Linked DNA regions of Homo sapiens: region 1 is linked to region 2. The links are contacts of gene promoters, found by promoter capture Hi-C in blood cells and fetal thymus (Javierre and others, 2016). All regions are on one chromosome and are shown on one strand. The core of a region is centred on a gene start or on the middle of the fragment in contact, and the rest is flanking DNA. Distances in the headings are between cores, read along the strand shown.

Region 1 (2,823 bases), core at 178-2,677, 680 kb before region 2:
AGACTAGGGCTGGCCCAGCACAGTGGCTCATGCCTGTCACCCCAGCACTTTGGGAGGCCGAAGCAGGTGGGTCACAAGGTCAGGAGATTGAGACCATCCTGGCTAACACGGTGAAATCCCATCTCTACTAAAAATACAAAAATTAGCCGGGCGTGGTGGGGGGTGCTTGTAGTCCCAGCTACTTGGGAGGCTGAGGCAGGAGAATGGCGTGAACCCGGGAGGTGGAGCTTGCAGTGAGCTGAGATCGCACCACTGCACTCCAACCTGGGCAACAAAGCAATACTCCATCTTAAAAACAAAAAATAGCCAGGTGTGGTGGCGTGTGCCTGTAGTCCCAGCTACTTGGGAGGCTGAGGCAGGAGGATCACTTGGACCAGGGAGGCGGAGGTTGCAGTGAGCCGAGATCGCGCCACTGCACTCTAGCCTGGGTGACAAACCAAGACCCTGTCTCAAAAACAACATCATCAACAACAACAACAAAAACTAGAGCTATCTATACAGAATGTGAGGAAGATAAAGCTCAAGTAGGCCTAACAAAAGACAGCACCCATGCGTGGCCAAGAGCCCTATGCGTCTGTAAGTTCACAGTAGTTTTTTTTTTTTTTTTTAAGAGACAACGGTCTTGCTGTGTTACCAAGGCTGGACTCAAACTCCCAGGACCAGGTGATCCACCAGCCTCGGCTTCCAGAGTCAGTGGGACTGTGGGTGTGCACCCTCACACCCAGGTGTTCACAGTGCATTACAACAAAACACAATGCACGTCTCTCTGCTGTCTGAGCCCGGGAAAGCCAGCACGTCTGCTAACTTAAAAGAGGTGACGAGACTTCTCACCCCAAGTACCTCACAGGTAGGAGAGCAGTGTGCTTGTTCCATTAGCAGGCAGAGGCTGCTGACTGGACCCAGGAGTCTGAAACAAACCCTGAGCATGAACCCTGGGAGACAGGGCACTCCAAGGGCACACAGGGAAGCCAGCAGGGCTGGGTCATTGCACTGGGGAGGACTGAGCCTTCGTGGCAGGTGGGGTAAGGGGCACGGTAGGGTCTGGGCAATGAGGCTGGGTTCAGGCCACAGTGGCAGATCCTGGTGGGTTTCATCATGCCAGGCACCAGCCCGAGCCCATAGTAGGGTGCGGGTGGAGCCTTAAAGTGCAAGGTTGGGACAGGTCCCAGAGTCCAGGGGCCACTGTCACAGAAAACGTTGCATCTGAAAAGTTGGATTTGGCTTTTCCTTTGTCTCCTACACGCACATAAAAAATGACACATGCAGCCTCAGCTCCACCCACACATAAAGCTTATGCTCTTCCTCTCAGAGCTGCGCCGCCCCTCTCAGGGAGGCCGTGACCCTAGATGCTGCCCTCTTTCCCACACCCCACAGATGGTCTGGCAGCCTGGGTGTTCAGGCAAGGCCAAGCAGGCCCCTGCTGTGCTAGGTTCAACAGGAGGCGCATCTTCACCCTGGTATCGTCTGCCCTCCTCACGTCAGGTAACCAGTCTCTGAAAAAATGGGCCAGGCCCACCTACCTTTTTGTTGTGTCTTAAGAAGTGGTAGCCCAAGGCAAGCTTCTTGTAGGCCTCCCCAAACTTCTCATTCCACCCTTCCACGGCCCGGGTGGTCGCCTGCCTCAGCCTCTGTGCCGCCTCCCTGGGGGGCGGCAGAGGCTGTGCGGGGTCTGTGCCCAGCGTGAGCTCCAGGAACTCCTGGAAGTTGGAAACAACCAGCATCCGGAACTGGTGAGACCTGACGAAGAGTTCCTCCACAATCTGGAAGGCTGAGAGACGGATCTCGGCGTGCTCCTGGGTCAGCTGTGCTATCAGCAGGCGGTAGGCGCGGCTCAGCTGCTCCTCTGAAGACCTGGGGATGCGAGCTGGCCTGACCCAACTGCCCCACACGCAGAGGATGGGCGGGGGGAGACTCTCCGTGCATGGATGCCGCACGCACGTGTGGCAGGGACCACCACTGCCTTCCCATCTTCATTCTCCCCTTTTCTAGAGCAGGGTCTGCAAACTACTGCCCAAGGGCCACATCTACCTCCCCAGCCCCTGCCTGTTTCTGTGTGGCCCACAAGCCAAGAATGTCAATACAAACAAAAAATACTTGGTGAAATGTGAAAATCATATACACTTCAAATGTCGGTGTTCATTCACAAAGTGTCATTGGAACGTCGCCCATCTATCCACCTACATCATCTACAGCTGTGTTCACAACTGAGGCATTACAGCAAAGCCTGAAACACAAACCATCTGGCTCTTTAAACACACGTTACCTAGCGCAACACACACCGCCCGGCACAAACGCCCACCGCCCGGCACAAACGCCAACCGCCCGGCACAAACACACACCGCCTGGCACAAACCGCACACCGCCCGGCACAACGCACACCGCCCGGCACAAACACACACCGCCTGGCACAACGCACACCGCCCAGCACGCACACTGTTTCAGCTGGGTGCCTCCTGCTGCAGGAAGGAAGGAAGGCCTAGAGCTCGGGACATCTCCCAGCCCCTCCTGAATGCTCCTATTCCCAGCTCCTGACCCCACATAAACCATTGCGAATTCGATTTCCTGGCGCAGGCCACAAAACCTGACCTGAAATTTTCTATCAAAATGTCAACACTCCATCACTGTATAAACAATCTATAAACTGCCATTTTACAAACACAGGATACAGAATAATCAGTGTCCTCGACTTATGCTCCACCCTCCGAGGGGAAGTTTTGCTTCCCCCATGAATCTCTGGCTGCCTGAGGGTGACGGCAGAGATCCCCTCCGGCGTTTTCCTTGGAGGAAGTGAACAGAGGTGGACATACCCTAAAGGCGATGGAC
Region 2 (2,700 bases), core at 160-2,659:
GGGACAGGTTTCACGGAGGACAGTTTTTCCGTGTTGGGGAGGAAGGTTTCGGGATGAAACTATTCCACCTCAGTTCATCAGGCATTAGATTCTCACCAGAGCGCAATCCAGATCCAAGTGCGCAGCTCACAGTAGGGTTCACGCTCCTATGGGAATCTGATGCCCAGGCTGATCTGAAAGTGGGTGGAGCTCGGGCAATCATGCTCCCTCACCTCGTCCTGTGCTGCCCGGTTCCTAACGGGCCACAAGCTGGTACTGGTCTGCACCTGGGGGTTGGGGACCCCTGCCCTATAGGACTGGCCTTGGTATACCCAGCTCAGGAAACAGAGCCCAGTGACTTCCTAGTTTCTCAGCCAGAGAGGCCCAGGCCCTGGACCCCAGAGCAAGCCAGGAGAGGGGGCAGAGGCGACTTAGGCCCGGACAGGTAGCCCAGGCCGCCAGGATCACGGGTCCTCCCCATGCTTGCTTCAAGAGTCCTGGAGTTTGTGATGCTGCACCTTAGCGAGACCCGAGCCATAGTTCTCCAGTTGCTTCTGCCTGTAGCAGTGCAGGGCCAGGAGGGGACACAGGAGGCCTTGCGTCACTACTGCATGGGGCCAAAGGGGGCCCGAGGGTGGCCCAGCACGGGCAGCATGGCTGCCGCCAGGAAGACCCAGAACGTGGAGGGGGTGCCAGGCTCCTGCCTAGACTCCAAGCCTGGTGTCCATGGGGCTGGCGGGTCAGCACTTCGGGCACAGCGGGGAGGCTGCATAGGCACCGCAGGCCCCATCTCTGGGCAGCTGTGGGAGACACACAGCTACCGGGAGGTGGACAGAGGCCAGCAAAGACCAGTGTGGGGCTCAGTGGTCCCCAGGCCTGGGCCGGGGCAGGCCCTTGGAGCCGTGGAGTCCTGAGGCCTGGAGTCGGGGGACCCAGGGAGCAGCCTCTGTTGGGGGCTGGTCTTCCCAAGAAGATCCCAGCCCCTCTTCGGGACAGAAGTGATGGGGCATCCTGGGGTGAGGAAGCTCCAGCTCCGGGATGAAGGGCGCCCCGTGCTCCCGGGCAGAGCAGCCGCAGGAAGAGGGGCCTGGAGGCCATGCTCCCGCGGGCCGCGGAATCCAACGCGGCCCGGCCGGCGACAGACACTACTGCCTTGTAGGAGAAGGACCTGCCCGGGGAGCCACCTGCACTCGGCTCACACTCCGCTCCCAGGACCCCCAGGTCCCTGCCCAGGCCACCCTCGGGTGGGCGCGGTCCGCGGGGCTGGACCCGCCCGAGCCGCCCTGACCTCAGGCCTCCGACGCTCCGCGCAAGAAGACAGAGTGCGCCCCGGCCCGCAGTCTGGGGTGTGGACACACGGCCAGGACGCGGACGGCGGGGCCTCGGCAGCAGCGCGGGGAAACAGCGGACCCCCAGCCCTGCGGGGAAAGGAAACCCCCCGCCCACTCGGCGCAGATCCCGCCTCACGCAGCAACTGCGCAGGCGCAGCCGATGATCCTCCGCGCACTCCCCAGCCTTTGTGCGCGTGCGCCTCACGTGACGTCACCGCCGCGCGGGGGCGCGCAGTCACCCTTCGGTCGCCAGGGGGCGCGGCCCCCCGCTCTCTCGCCGCTGACGGCGCATGCGTGCGCCCAGCTCCGCCTTTGCCTCCAAGGCTTTGCTGGCTTGTGCGGCATCCTGCTCCGTCTGCAGGTTGTGCTTCCGGTGCGGAGGTCAGGGACAAGATGGTGCCACCGGTGCAGGTCTCTCCGCTCATCAAGGTGATCCAGGCTTTGCAGCCGCCGCCCAGTGCTCTGGGCCCCCCCGTGTCCCGCCCCGCAGCTCCGACCCCGCGGGCTGCGACCCCCGGCCCCCGCCCCCATGATCCTCGCCCCGTGACCCTCGCCCGGCGACCGGACCCCCACCCCTCCTGCGACCTCTGCCCAGCGACCCCGCCCCCCCTCCTCCCGCGACCCCCGTCCCGCGAGCCCCGTTTCGCGCCGCCTCTGACCAACCTCTTTCGCAGCTCGGCCGCTACTCCGCCCTGTTCCTCGGTGTGGCCTACGGAGCCACGCGCTACAGTGAGTGACCGCGGGCGGGGCCGGGGCGGGGTCTGCTCGGCTTTCCTGTGGAGCTCCTGTGCTATTTGGAGAACTCCAGCTCTGGAAGGGGGCTTGGGACGCATGCGAGGCTGCAGGACCGTGTCCTCCACCGAGCGTGACCCCGATAGTGGAATCAGCTCACCCAAAGCTCAGGCTTCTGAGGCCCGGGCGGGGGACTCGAAAACGGCTGCTTCTTGGTGAAAACGGGTGCTAAATGGCTGTTCGAGTGCTGAGGTCTTGATGGGAGGCAGTCCCTGTTCGCAGAGGACGAGTGAGCCAGTGCGTGAGCGGGTGGGCAGCAGGGGCCCTGTAGCCTCTGGGTTGGACTCGTCAGGGTGAAGGTCAGGCGTTGACTCGCATTAACATAAAGAGCGGGAACAGCAGGTGCGTCTGGTTTACAGCGTCGCTGAAGATACCTTGACCTGTGGACTCAGTTCCTTTTGTACAGCATTTCCAGTGAATTTTATTCTCCTGCATTCCGCCAAACAGATTACCTAAAACCTCGGGCAGAAGAGGAGAGGAGGATAGCAGCAGAAGAGAAGAAGAAGCAGGATGAACTGAAACGGATTGCCAGAGAATTGGCAGAAGGTACGAGTGACACTGGCTCTTATAGATTGTCCCTCCCAGGTTTGTGCAGGGA

Evidence for each region. Contacts are between HindIII fragments. The CHiCAGO score rates a contact against its expected background, and 5 or more counts as called.
Region 1: a fragment that was not itself captured here is called in contact with the fragment with the promoter of MYL5 in region 2 in 2 of 17 cell types (naive B cells and total B cells); the score reaches 5.6 in naive B cells.

What each region holds. Positions count from the first base shown.
Region 1 is chr4:1,348,552-1,351,374 of GRCh38, reverse strand. UVSSA (UV stimulated scaffold protein A) reads right to left here. Exons shown (of 14, transcript NM_020894.4): 3 at 1,521-1,851. Among named protein-coding and RNA genes, the nearest start is that of UVSSA, 2.8 kb to the right of the region's middle. RefSeq lists a silencer at 256-424. The HindIII fragment of the contact is 269 bases long and covers 1,293-1,561 here.
Region 2 is chr4:673,251-675,950 of GRCh38, reverse strand. MYL5 (myosin light chain 5) reads right to left here and starts at 1,409. Exons shown (of 9, transcript NM_002477.2): 1 at 1,268-1,409. It overlaps ATP5ME (ATP synthase membrane subunit e), which reads left to right and starts at 1,675. Exons shown (of 4, transcript NM_007100.4): 1 at 1,675-1,739; 2 at 1,985-2,039; 3 at 2,550-2,648. The coding sequence starts at 1,704. RefSeq lists enhancers at 839-908, 786-1,543 and a silencer at 1,119-1,388. The HindIII fragment of the contact is 4,723 bases long and covers 1-2,700 here.